Regions from separate parts of the Homo sapiens genome. Here regions 2, 3 and 4 are each linked to region 1. The links are contacts of gene promoters, found by promoter capture Hi-C in human tissues and cell types (Jung and others, 2019). All regions are on one chromosome and are shown on one strand. Each heading gives the region's core, a stretch centred on a gene start or on the middle of the fragment in contact. The rest is flanking DNA. Distances are from core to core; before and after follow the strand shown.

Region 1 (2,700 bases), core at 180-2,679:
CATGGTGAAACTGCATCTCTACAAAAAAATTTTAGAAATTAGCTAGGCGTGGTGGTGCGTGCCTGTAGTTCCAGCTATTCGGGAGGCTGAAAAGGGAGGATGGCTTGATTCCAGGGAGTCGAGGCTGCAGCGAGCCCAGATCGCACCATTGCATTCTAGCCTAGGTGACAGAGCAAGATCCTGTCTCCAAAAATAAAATAAAAAAAAAATTAAAAAAAAGGAAAACAATGTATTAGTAAAAGTTATGTTTTGTAGAAATGTGTTGCACTCAGTCACAGTCTAGTCTCCTCAGTTACCCATATATAGGGATATAGGGATTCCTCGGGCACAAAATATGTTGTTATTTAATCCTGAGGCCTCAGCTGGAAAAGAGAGCCAAGTGCCTAGAACGAATGAGGTCCACTGTGCGGGAACTGCTTTGCAGTTTGTTAAATAATTATAACAATCACCCGAAACTTTAGACGGTTCTGTCCCCAGTGGGTCGATTTTACCCGTTTTCTGATTTACCGACTGCGTCTATGTCACTTTTGCGTCACTACCTCCAATGGCAGGGTTAAAATGATTCCTTTAATAATGAAATGAAGTTTCTCAATAATGAAAGGGCTAACTTAAAGTCGCCGGATGCAGCATTTCAAAGTTTAGGAAGTTACTTTTGAAAAGTACAACCGGCAGAGATGAGTGAACTTAGTTTTTTAACTGACTTGGAGAAGACCTTGCTAGCAGGGCAGGTTTATTACGAACTCTGTAATTATCCTTCTTTGCTAAGCTAAAGGTTTTCCTTTCCCAACCGTAAGACAGATTTCGACTTGAGTGAGAGCTGTGAACTTTTATAAAAGTGAAAGGGAAGAGAAGAAATGGCAGGCTGGGAATCTGGCCCGGAGACGGCGTCCACCGCGCTCGAGAGCAACAATCTGCATCACCAGAAAGGCAACTTCTCTACCCTACACTTGCAGACTTCCGCGAGTCCGGGAGCACTCAACGCAGTCACCCGCGCTTCCGCGTCCCGGACTAGGGAAACTGAGGCACGGTAGGCGCGTCGCGCGCAACTCCCGCCTCGGCGCCTGCCCCCTGGAAGAAACCCAGGCTTCCAGAGTTCTTCGCGCGAGCGCAGGGACTTCCAAGCCGCGCAGCTCCCGTCCGCCCCGCCCCGCCCCGCCCCGGCTCGGGACAAAGCCCGGAGCCCGCGCCGGGAGACGGAGGGCGGCTCCCGCGCGAGCCACGCTCCCCCGTGGGCGCGAGACTCCGCCCAGCTGCCGAAAGCCCGCGCCCCAACGGCGAAGCAGCCGCGCCGGTCCGCCCCGATTCCCCATGACGTCACCGGCGGCGGCAGGCCCCGCCTCCAGCCCCGGGCGGCAGGCCGCATGACGTCACCGAGGCCCCACCCCTCCGGAGCGAGTTCGGTCCTGGCGTTCATTTCATTCCTGTCCTCATTCCGAACATTCTTAGCATCGCTCGCGCCGCGCCGCGCCGCCTGAGCCGAGCCGAGCCTCTGCTGCCGCCGCCGCGGCCCCGCCGCCCGCCGCGGGCGCCCACCAAGCACTTTGCAGACTCGCTTCCACCCTGCGGGCCATTCCGCGCGGCGGGGCCCGGGCCCGGGGCGGCCGCGTCCAGGCACAGGCCATGCAGTGACGCCCCCCCACCCCTCCACCTTTGCCCGGAGCGCGGGCAGCAGCCCAGCGCGCCAGCCGGCCCCGGGGCAGGAGCGGTGCTAGGCAGGGGTGGGGTGGCCGGGCCCAGGGACCGGGAGCCGGGGAGGGAGCCGGGCACCGAGCAGAGGGCGGGGGAAGCGGCGCCGAAGTTTGCCTCGGACTCGCCGGGCGCTGCGGTGGCTCCCTGGGCCGAGGTAAGTTGGCGCGCGGGGCGGATGCTGGGGTGCGGGGGGCGCACGGGGCAGCGGGGGGCCGGCGGCGCGTCCCTCGCGGGCCGCTCTTTCTTTGCGGGCTCTGCTTTGTGTGCGACGGCGGGCGGGCACGCGGAGGGCCGCGGCCGGGCCCCCACACCCGCCTCCCCGCGCCCCCTCCGAGGTGAGCGGCCGGGCGCCGCCGCGCGACTTGCCAGGACGCCAAGTTGGGCCGCGCGCTGGGAGCCCGCGCGGCAACAGGCGGCCCCCGGCCGGCCGCGCCGCGCCCCCCGCGCGCCCCCTCTCCCGCCGCCTGCACGCGCACACACGCACACACCCTCGGGCGCCTTGGACGGGGTGCGCTGGGGAGCCAGAAGTTCGGAGCGAGCGCGGGCGGGCAGAGCCGCCGCCTCGGAGCCCGGAGCCGGCCTGCACCCCCCTGCTTTCGCCGCCGCCCCCCGGCGCCGGGTACCCCCGAGGCCGGCCCGGGTCTGCGCAGACTTGTGCCGCTGGCGGGGGGTTCGCTCCTTCTTCTCAAAGATGAAAAAGGGCACGGTCGTCTTTGCCGCTTCTCCAGGACTGTTGCTGCCGCTGCCGCCGCCGCTTCATTGCACATTCAAGTGGAAAATTTTCAGGAGTCAGCAGAAACATTGTGTCCAAAAAAGACTGAGTCGCAGTTACCACCAAACCCAGGAGGAGACTCTCCCTGGAAAACTTCCCTTCCCTTTCGGTAGGAAATACTGGGGGATTTGTTTGTTGATTGGAAGAGAAATGATCCCCGGGGGGGAGAAAATCTGGGTACACTTCTAGTCTTTGTTCGTAACAGCAACACTTGTTTTCAAAAGTCCAGAGTCCCGCTT
Region 2 (2,700 bases), core at 2-2,501, 35 kb before region 1:
TTAACGATTCCATATCCCACAGGGCAAACATGGTGCCCAGTAGGCATGCTATGTTTGTCGGACTGAACAAAGTTTTGTGCATTGGTCTTGCTTCTGCCTAGTCCTGCCTCATGAACCTTTTGAATCTTTCAAAAAACTGTCTTTCAAATATTTGAAGAAACCATCAAGTTTTATCTGAATATTCTCCAGTACGAAATTTCCAACCCCTTCAACTGTACTGTGTGTGGCATTCATTCACTCATTCATTTAGTAATTTCATGCTCTGGGCTAATTACTGTGACAATGTGATTCAAATAACTGAGGTTCGATGTGAACCATGGGTGACAGAAAACTAGACTCACAATAGTGGAGTTGGTTTTTACATTTCATTAAATGGACAATTTAAAATGTAAATAGAACAGGAAGGTCAAGTAAAAGTCAGAAAGCCCCCCAGAATTACCCTTCTCTGATGTCTGAGTGTTGTGTAGGTAGTTTTGAAATTCAGAGTAGTTACATCCCACTTTATATGATCCAATCTGCTTGGAACACAGACCTTGTTTCCCATAGTCAGAAACAATGGTACATATAGAGGTGAATCCTCCCTATACCCTGAAAATCCAGCAAAGAGAGAAATCCATACTGAAGCTAACATGCTGTACATTTGCCACTGAATATTGTGAGGTATTCTGTGGCCACAGTTGCGACGATTAAACAAAACAGGAAAGCAACACAAGTTAATAAGGAAATTTTTACTTATTTTGCTGGTCCTTGAGGATAAGCAGATATTGTTCATTTATTCATTCATTCAAAAACCACATATTGGGTTTATTTAGAAAAGAAGGAAAAACTAGTTGACTATATCTGCAGGGCTTCTAAAAGGGACTTGTGGACATCTCAAGGTACTCAGAGAGTAATGCAATTAAATTACATGTGATTTCTCTTCTGAATGCCCTGTTCTCTCTTCCTCAATACAGGTCTAACACCAGCAATATTTACACACCGAAGGCACGAGTATGGCCATTTGGGGGGCTGTGATATTGTTATTGAGGAGTTTTCCAGAGATAACTAGACAAGAGCTAGAAAACAATGGAAGGAACTTTAGAAGCTCACAGGTATGTAACTGAACTAAAACAATTAACTGTGTACTGGAAAAGAAAAGAGGAATTTATTAAGTATCTACTTGTGCCAATAAACAAGACAGATATTATTTTCATAATTCTACATGAGACAAAAGAAAGGAGGTGATAGGGAGGAGATCTGAGTCAGCATATTCTGTGTTGGCCTTCACAAGTTCCTGTCATCTAGGATGTCTCATTTGATTTCAGAGAAAGATCTAGGTAAGGGAGGGAAGAGTGACCTTCCCCATTGGCATCAGAGGTACCAGAAGCAACACCTACCACTGCCTCTGTGAGTTAAGGATGCCTGATCTGGGCAGCCAAACTATATATACCTCCAAATGTAGATCCAAAAGAATCTATACACCTTGACCAAAACGTAATTTTTTAGAATAATTGCATAAATTCTCAAGAGAAGAAAAATAAAAAATAACTACTAACAACCATTGTGTTCTTCCCCACTTCATACCGCAGGATAATCCGGCATTGTTCACCCTGTGTAAAGGCTCTATGGTGGATCCATCAGGCTATCAGTCAGGTCTTTGTTGAGCTCCTTGGAAATGCACAATAGAAAACTATCCCTCAGGGAGCTTACAATCAAATAGGGAAGTAGATGTTATTAAATAAGAAACAAGGCAGGGCACAGTGGCTCATGCCTGTAATCCCAACACTTTGAGAGGCCGAGGCAGAAGGATCACTTGAGCCCAGGAATTCAAGACCAGCCTAATCAACATAGGGAGTGTGTACAAATGATTTAAAAATTAGTTGGGCACCATGGCTTGCACCTGTGGTTTCAGCTACTAGGGAGGCTGAGGTAGAAGGATCGCTTGAGCTTGAGAGGTCAAGGCTGCAGTGAGCTGTCATCTTGCTCACTCTCTTGCCCAGGTCTCAGAGCAAGATCCTGTCTCCAAAATAATAATAATAATAAACAACTTGAAATAATTAAATTATTACAGGTGTGGAAAGGGAAGATCTCAGTTTCAATGGAGCATTGGATCTATACAAGTCAAGAGGCAAAAAGTGGGCTTTGCTGAAGACTGATGCTAAAGCTGAATTCTGGACAATGAGTAGCAATGAGCCATGTAAAGAAAAGGAAGTGAGTAGGTCCTGAGGCAAAACAGAGTTTGCCACGTTTGAGGAACTGTGAGAGAACTGTTGTTCCCAGTGGGAGAACACTAAGAATGAAATTGGCTCAAAATGAGGCTGGAGATGTAGGCTTAGATTACATAGGTTGGCCAGCATAGGAATTTTAGATTTCATTTTAAAAATCAATGGGGAATCATTAAATTGCTTTAAGTTAGAGAGGAGGAATAGCTGCAGAGCAAATTTCCATTTTTTAAAGATTATTTTATGGGTAAGACTTCCAGAATAGCCACCACCATCCCCCCATCACCACATAACCCCCCCCACCACCTCCCCCCACCATACTCCCACATTCCCCCCATATCCCCCACCACAACATCCCCACCACCACCACATACCCACCACATCCCCCCCATCACCACATCCCCCCCACCACCACATCCCCCCCCACCACATCCCCCCCACCACATCCCCCCCACCACATCCCCCCCACCACCACATCCCCCCCACCACCTCCACATCC
Region 3 (2,700 bases), core at 181-2,680, 51 kb before region 1:
GTCAGAGTGATCTGGATCTGAATTTCAGCTGTTGGACACAAAAGCCTATGGTTCAAGAGAAAGGATCAAGCTGAAAATAGAGATGCTGAGTCCCTTAGGTCCTAGGGAGAAAAGGAATTTAAGGAGATGTCTCAGGGAAAGTGAAGAAAGAGTGAACTGTTTCTGCATCTGTTTGCTTTGAACCCACCATGTTCAAAGCAGGCATTATGAGGGCCTTGCCTGTCTGTGGACACATTCACTAGAGGAAGAATTTTCACAAACAATGAAACAACAATTTCACAAACAATTTTAACAAACCTCTAGGTTGTTTCACTCCCATTCTGTCATTTTTATGCACTTGACTATCTATTCAGACCGAGGAACAAAAAAAAAGAAGAAAAAGAGCCTCAGAGACCTATGGGACACAATCAAGTGTATCAATATATTCATGAGAGTCCCAGAAAGAGAGGAAAGAAAGGGGAAAAATAATATTTGAAGAAACTATGGGCAAAAACTTCCCAAATTTGATTTTAAAAAACGTGAATCTACACCTCCAAGAAGCTCAACAAATTCCAATAGGGTAAACTCAAAGAGTTTCATACGTAGAAACATCATAATCAAACTGTCGAAAGACAAACAGAGAATCTTAAAAACAGCGAGAGAGAAGCAATACAGCACAAGTGGTCTTCATTAAGATTAACTTATTTCTCATCAGGAACTATGGAATCTGGGAGGCAGTGGATGGCATATTCAAAGACCTGAAAGACTCAAAAGCTCTGTATCTAGCAAAACTGTCCTTTAAAAATGAAAGAGAAATTAGGTCATTCCAATATAAACAAAAACAGAGAATGGAGTTCTTCCTGCCTAAATGAAAGGACCCTAGACAATAACTTGAGTCCACATAAAGAAATATAAGTCTCTGGTAAAAACTAAATATAAAAGACAATGTAAATATATCTTTTATTTATAACTGTTTTCTACTATATTATTTAAGAGACAACTACATAAAGCAATAATTATGAATCTGTATACCAGTCATGTATCAGACCATGCAATGTATAATGAGGTAATTTATATGAAAATAACAGCACAAATAAGAGGGTAGATACTAGAGCTATATAAGAGGAAAGTTTTATATATTGTTGTAATCAACTTTGTATTAATGCAAATTAGATTGTTATAAGATGTTAATTGTGGCTGGGCTCTGTGGCTCATGCCTGTAATCCCAGCACTTTGGGAGGCCGAGGCAGGCAGATCATGAGGTCAGGAGATCGAGACCATCCTGGCTAACATGGTGAAACCCCAACTCTACTAAAAATACAAAAAAATTAGCCGGGCATGGTGGTGTGTGCCTGTAGTCCCAGCTACTCAGGAGGCTGAGGCAGGAGAACAGCATGAGCCCAGGAGGTGGAGCTTGCAGTGAGTTGAGATTGTGCCATTGCACTCCAACCTGGGGGACAGAGTGAGACTCCGTCTCAAAAAAAAAAAAAAAAAAAAAAAGATGTTAATTGTAACACCCAGGGTAACCACTAAAAAAAAAAAAGTAAAATGGTCAACTAAAATGGCCCACTAAGTAATATCCATTTTACACAAAAGAAGGCAGTAATGGGGGAATGAATGAAGAAACAAAGAAGACATAATACATATAGAAAACAAGTAACAAATGGCAGATGTAAATCTTACCAGTTATTATATTAAATACAAACTGATTAAACACTCTAATTAAAAGACAAAGACTAGAATTATGATGGGAGGGTGCATGATTCAAATGTATGTTGTCTACAAAAGGTACATTTTAGAATCAAAGTCACAAATAGGTTTAAAGGATGGAAATATGTGTACCATGAAAACAGTAAACAAAAGAGCTGGAGTGGTTGCAGTATAGACAAAAGAGACTAAGTTAAAAATTGTTACTGGAGAAAAAAAGGACATTTTATAATGATAAAAGGGTCACTCCATCAAAACAATTATAAGCATATATGTACTTAACAACAGAGCCCAGAAATGCATGCAGCAGAACTTGACACATTTGAAGGTATTCATAGGCAATTCATCAGTAACAGAAGGAAACACTTCCTAACTCATTATTTGGAGCCAGAATTACCCTGATACCAAAGCCAGACAACTCACAAGAAAACTACAGAAAGCTATATCCCTTATGAATATATATACAAATATCTTCAACAAGATACTAGCAAACCAAATCCAGCAGCATATAAAAAGGATCATACACCATGACAAAGTGTGATTAATCCCAGGAATGCAAGGTTGGTTCAGCTCATGAAAAAAAATCAATGTACTAAATCACATTAATAGATTAAAGGACAAATCCACATTACTTTGCCAATAGATGCAGAGAAAGCGTTGACAAAATCTAACAACCTTTCATAAGAACACTGAAGAAGGCAGGAATAGAAGGGAATTTCTTTGATCTGATAAAGAGCATTTAAGAAAAACCCACAACTATCATCATACTTAATGGTGAAAGCTGATAGCTTTGCCCCTAAGGTCAGGAAAAAGACCAGAATGTCTATCTCATCCCTTCTATCTAATCAGCATTGTAGTGGAGAATCTAGTCAAGGCACTAGGCAAGAAAAAGAAATAAAAAATCATCAGATTTAAAAGAAAGAAGTAGAACTACTTCTATTCATAGATAGCATACTTAGGAATAAATTTTAAAAAAGAAGTCTTGTACACTGAAAAGTACAAAACATTGTTAAG
Region 4 (2,700 bases), core at 82-2,581, 42 kb after region 1:
TCCTCTTGTAAGGACACCAGTCACACTCGGTTAGGGCCCACCTTGTTAATCACCTCTTTAAAAGGCCATGTCTCCAAATGCTGTCACATCCTGAGGTACTTGGGATTAGGGGTTCAACATACGATTTTTTTGAGGGGGAGACACAATTCAGCCCATAACAATTCCGCAGTTCTCTACCAAGTGTCAGTATGTGTCAGGCACTGCCCTCTAGGAATGTAGCTATGAATAAAACACAAAAATCTCTACCCTTATGGAGCATACCATGGGGTCGGGGAGTTTAGTGGTCTTCAGTCACCGCTTCCAGTTTCTGTTTGGGACCCATCTAACTTAGTATGATTTTAGCACCCTCCTCTCCTCCAAATTCCTTATTCCTGTAAATTCCATGCCCTGAGACCATTCCTTCACCAGAGACAAAACCCAGGGATGGAAAAGCCTCGTGACCCAGTGTAACCAGCAGAACAGGCATCAGGGACAGGAGATCCTTTCTAGTTGAGCAGGACTCCTTGAGGGATCTGAGAAACAGATAAAGCCTGGGGACTGGGGAGGAGGAGAGGGTATGGGTCTCGGGTGATGGCTGGGCAAGGAGAGGCTGTGGGCAGTTTTCTTTAGCCAAGGGCTGGTTGCCTTCGTTTCACCTGGGTGGGGGGCCCAGGTGTTCTGCTCCTGGGGAAGCTTGTTTCTGGAAGCCGCAGCAGGCTGGCTGTCTCTCTGGGGAGCTGCACGTGATGCAGACGGGGCTGCTGGAGACAGGCCTACTGGCATGGAGACCTACCTTGCAGGGGCTTTGCCAGAAGGGGTTGGGATCAGGGAGTCACTTCCTGAATGATTTGGGTTGTAGATGGGCTTATCAGATTAAAAAAAAGATGCCCAGTTAAATTTGAATATCAGATAATCAGTGTATGTCCCATGATTCAAATTTCAGGTAAGCAATATTTGGGAAAAATTTATACTAATAAATTAATTTGAATGTCATTTTTCTGACATTCACATTTAAGGGGGCATACCATTTTTATTTCCCGAATCTAGCAATCTCACCTCTAGGGGTTCCCAGATTAACAGGTGGCGATGGAAGATGGGGGAAAGACCAACAAGAACAATCGTAATTCATTTTTTTACAGTAAAAATCTTGGCCAAGGAATCATTTCCTAGCTCACCCTCCCCACCTTCCCCCCAAGACTGAGACTGTCATTTGCCCCCTTTGCATGAACAGACCTCACAGAGAGGTCATAGCCTGGTGACTTAGGATGGGCTTCCTGTCCTGCGCGGGCTCTTTGTCTGTCGGCTTCCGGCCGAGGGATGGGAGGGGGAGCAGTCTGAACACTGGTGGAAACTCCGGCCAACTCTCTCCACTGCCCTCCTTTTCTGTTGCATTGGAACCACCGGACAAGCAGAATCGCTGTGCCCCAATCCAGCCTCATCTGTCTTAGAACAGGTAGGTGTCTGCGAGGGAGTGCAGCAGAGAGTGTGACTTCCTAGGAGTTCACGGGGGGGTTCCTGCAGCCCTTGGAGAGCACCCTTTTTCTGCTGACATCCCTCCCCCCTCCATTGAGGGACCTCTGTCATTGCTGCTGAATCCCTGGACCTGAACCTGTGATCAAGAAGTAATCCTTTTTATTTTCCCCCCAGACAATGTTTAGATTTTTGAGGTCTCATTTTTAGCAGTGTCCTGGCACTTGCTTCTTAGTCAGGGGTCAGAAAACTTTTTCTGGTATAGGTCAGATAGCAAATATTTTTGACTTTGCAGGTCACCTGGTCTCTGCCACCACCTCTCAGCTCTGCTGTTGTGGTTTGAAAGCAGCCATAGACAACATGAAAACCAGTGGATGTGGCTATGTTCCAGTAAAATCTTATTTATGGACACATGTGAACTCCATGTAGTTTATTATTCCTTTGTTTTTCAACCATTAAGGAATGTAAAAACCATTCTTCCTTCATGGGCCATACAAAAACAGATGGCAGACCAGATTTGGCCTGTGAGCCATGGTTTGCCAGCCCTCTTCTAAGTCATCAGCAGAGAACATTACAGATCAGAAGCCTGGCTCTGCGTTCCCGACATAGGCGCTGAATGGCTTCCCGCCCTGAGGTCACAGCTTCTGCTGCTCCCAGGTGACTGACTGAGCTGGGATCCGAAGTAGTGGGCTTGGCCTCTCAGCTGCCCACAATGTGGGTACCAACTCACATACCATAGTTTGCTGTACAGAGAAAGGTTCCTGCATGGATTTGTAGATCTTCAGAGGATGAGCCATAAACAGTCAAGTCTGGCCATGGAATGTAATGAATGTAGTTATACTGATCATAGACTATAATATCCAGAGTGATTCGGGGCTAATAAGTAGCCAGCAGAATTGAATGTGGGGCAGTTGTATGCCTCTGGTATGCTACTTTCTGCCTACAGTTGTGTGTGTGCTTGGTATTGTGTGTTTTAAGTGAAAGGATCAATTGGATTTGAATTTCTGTCACTGGTAGGGTCTAGCTACACCTGAAACATGAGTCAGGAGGCAGGGCCCTTCATTCCTGAGTGTCTTGACTGATGGAAGCTTTGTGTTTTATGGATAGAAGATGTGCTGTGTAAGGTGGACAGTGGAATTACACCTCCACAGAAATCACTCCTGGATGGAGAATCAAGTTTGCATGTGTGCCCTGTAGCATTCATTCTTGCCGCATGCTGGGAGATGGGTGGTTATTAGGTTATGTCAAAGT

Evidence for each region. Contacts are between HindIII fragments. The study calls those that stand out against the background at their distance.
Region 2: a fragment that was not itself captured here is called in contact with the fragment with the promoter of TEAD1 in region 1 in 2 of the 25 tissues and cell types used here (bladder and liver).
Region 3: a fragment that was not itself captured here is called in contact with the fragment with the promoter of TEAD1 in region 1 in 2 of the 25 tissues and cell types used here (neural progenitor cells and thymus).
Region 4: a contact is called between a fragment that was not itself captured here and the fragment with the promoter of TEAD1 in region 1, in 16 of the 25 tissues and cell types used here (H1 embryonic stem cells, IMR-90 fibroblasts, bladder and 13 more).

Annotation. Positions count from the first base shown.
Region 1 is chr11:12,672,992-12,675,691 of GRCh38, forward strand. It overlaps TEAD1 (TEA domain transcription factor 1), which reads left to right and starts at 1,430. Exons shown (of 13, transcript NM_021961.6): 1 at 1,430-1,843; 2 at 2,418-2,570. RefSeq lists a silencer at 1,122-1,421 and an enhancer at 2,257-2,700. The HindIII fragment of the contact is 23,361 bases long and covers 1-2,700 here.
Region 2 is chr11:12,638,348-12,641,047 of GRCh38, forward strand. It overlaps LOC105376556 (a long non-coding RNA gene), which reads left to right. Exons shown (of 5, transcript XR_931039.2): 3 at 954-1,091; 4 at 2,051-2,190. Among named protein-coding and RNA genes, the nearest start is that of TEAD1, 35 kb to the right of the region's middle. The HindIII fragment of the contact is 5,333 bases long and covers 1-2,700 here.
Region 3 is chr11:12,621,810-12,624,509 of GRCh38, forward strand. The region is part of intron 1 of LOC105376556 (a long non-coding RNA gene); the gene reads left to right. Among named protein-coding and RNA genes, the nearest start is that of TEAD1, 51 kb to the right of the region's middle. The HindIII fragment of the contact is 6,544 bases long and covers 1-2,700 here.
Region 4 is chr11:12,714,852-12,717,551 of GRCh38, forward strand. The region is part of intron 2 of TEAD1 (TEA domain transcription factor 1); the gene reads left to right. Among named protein-coding and RNA genes, the nearest start is that of TEAD1, 42 kb to the left of the region's middle. RefSeq lists an enhancer at 160-1,000. The HindIII fragment of the contact is 6,546 bases long and covers 1-2,700 here.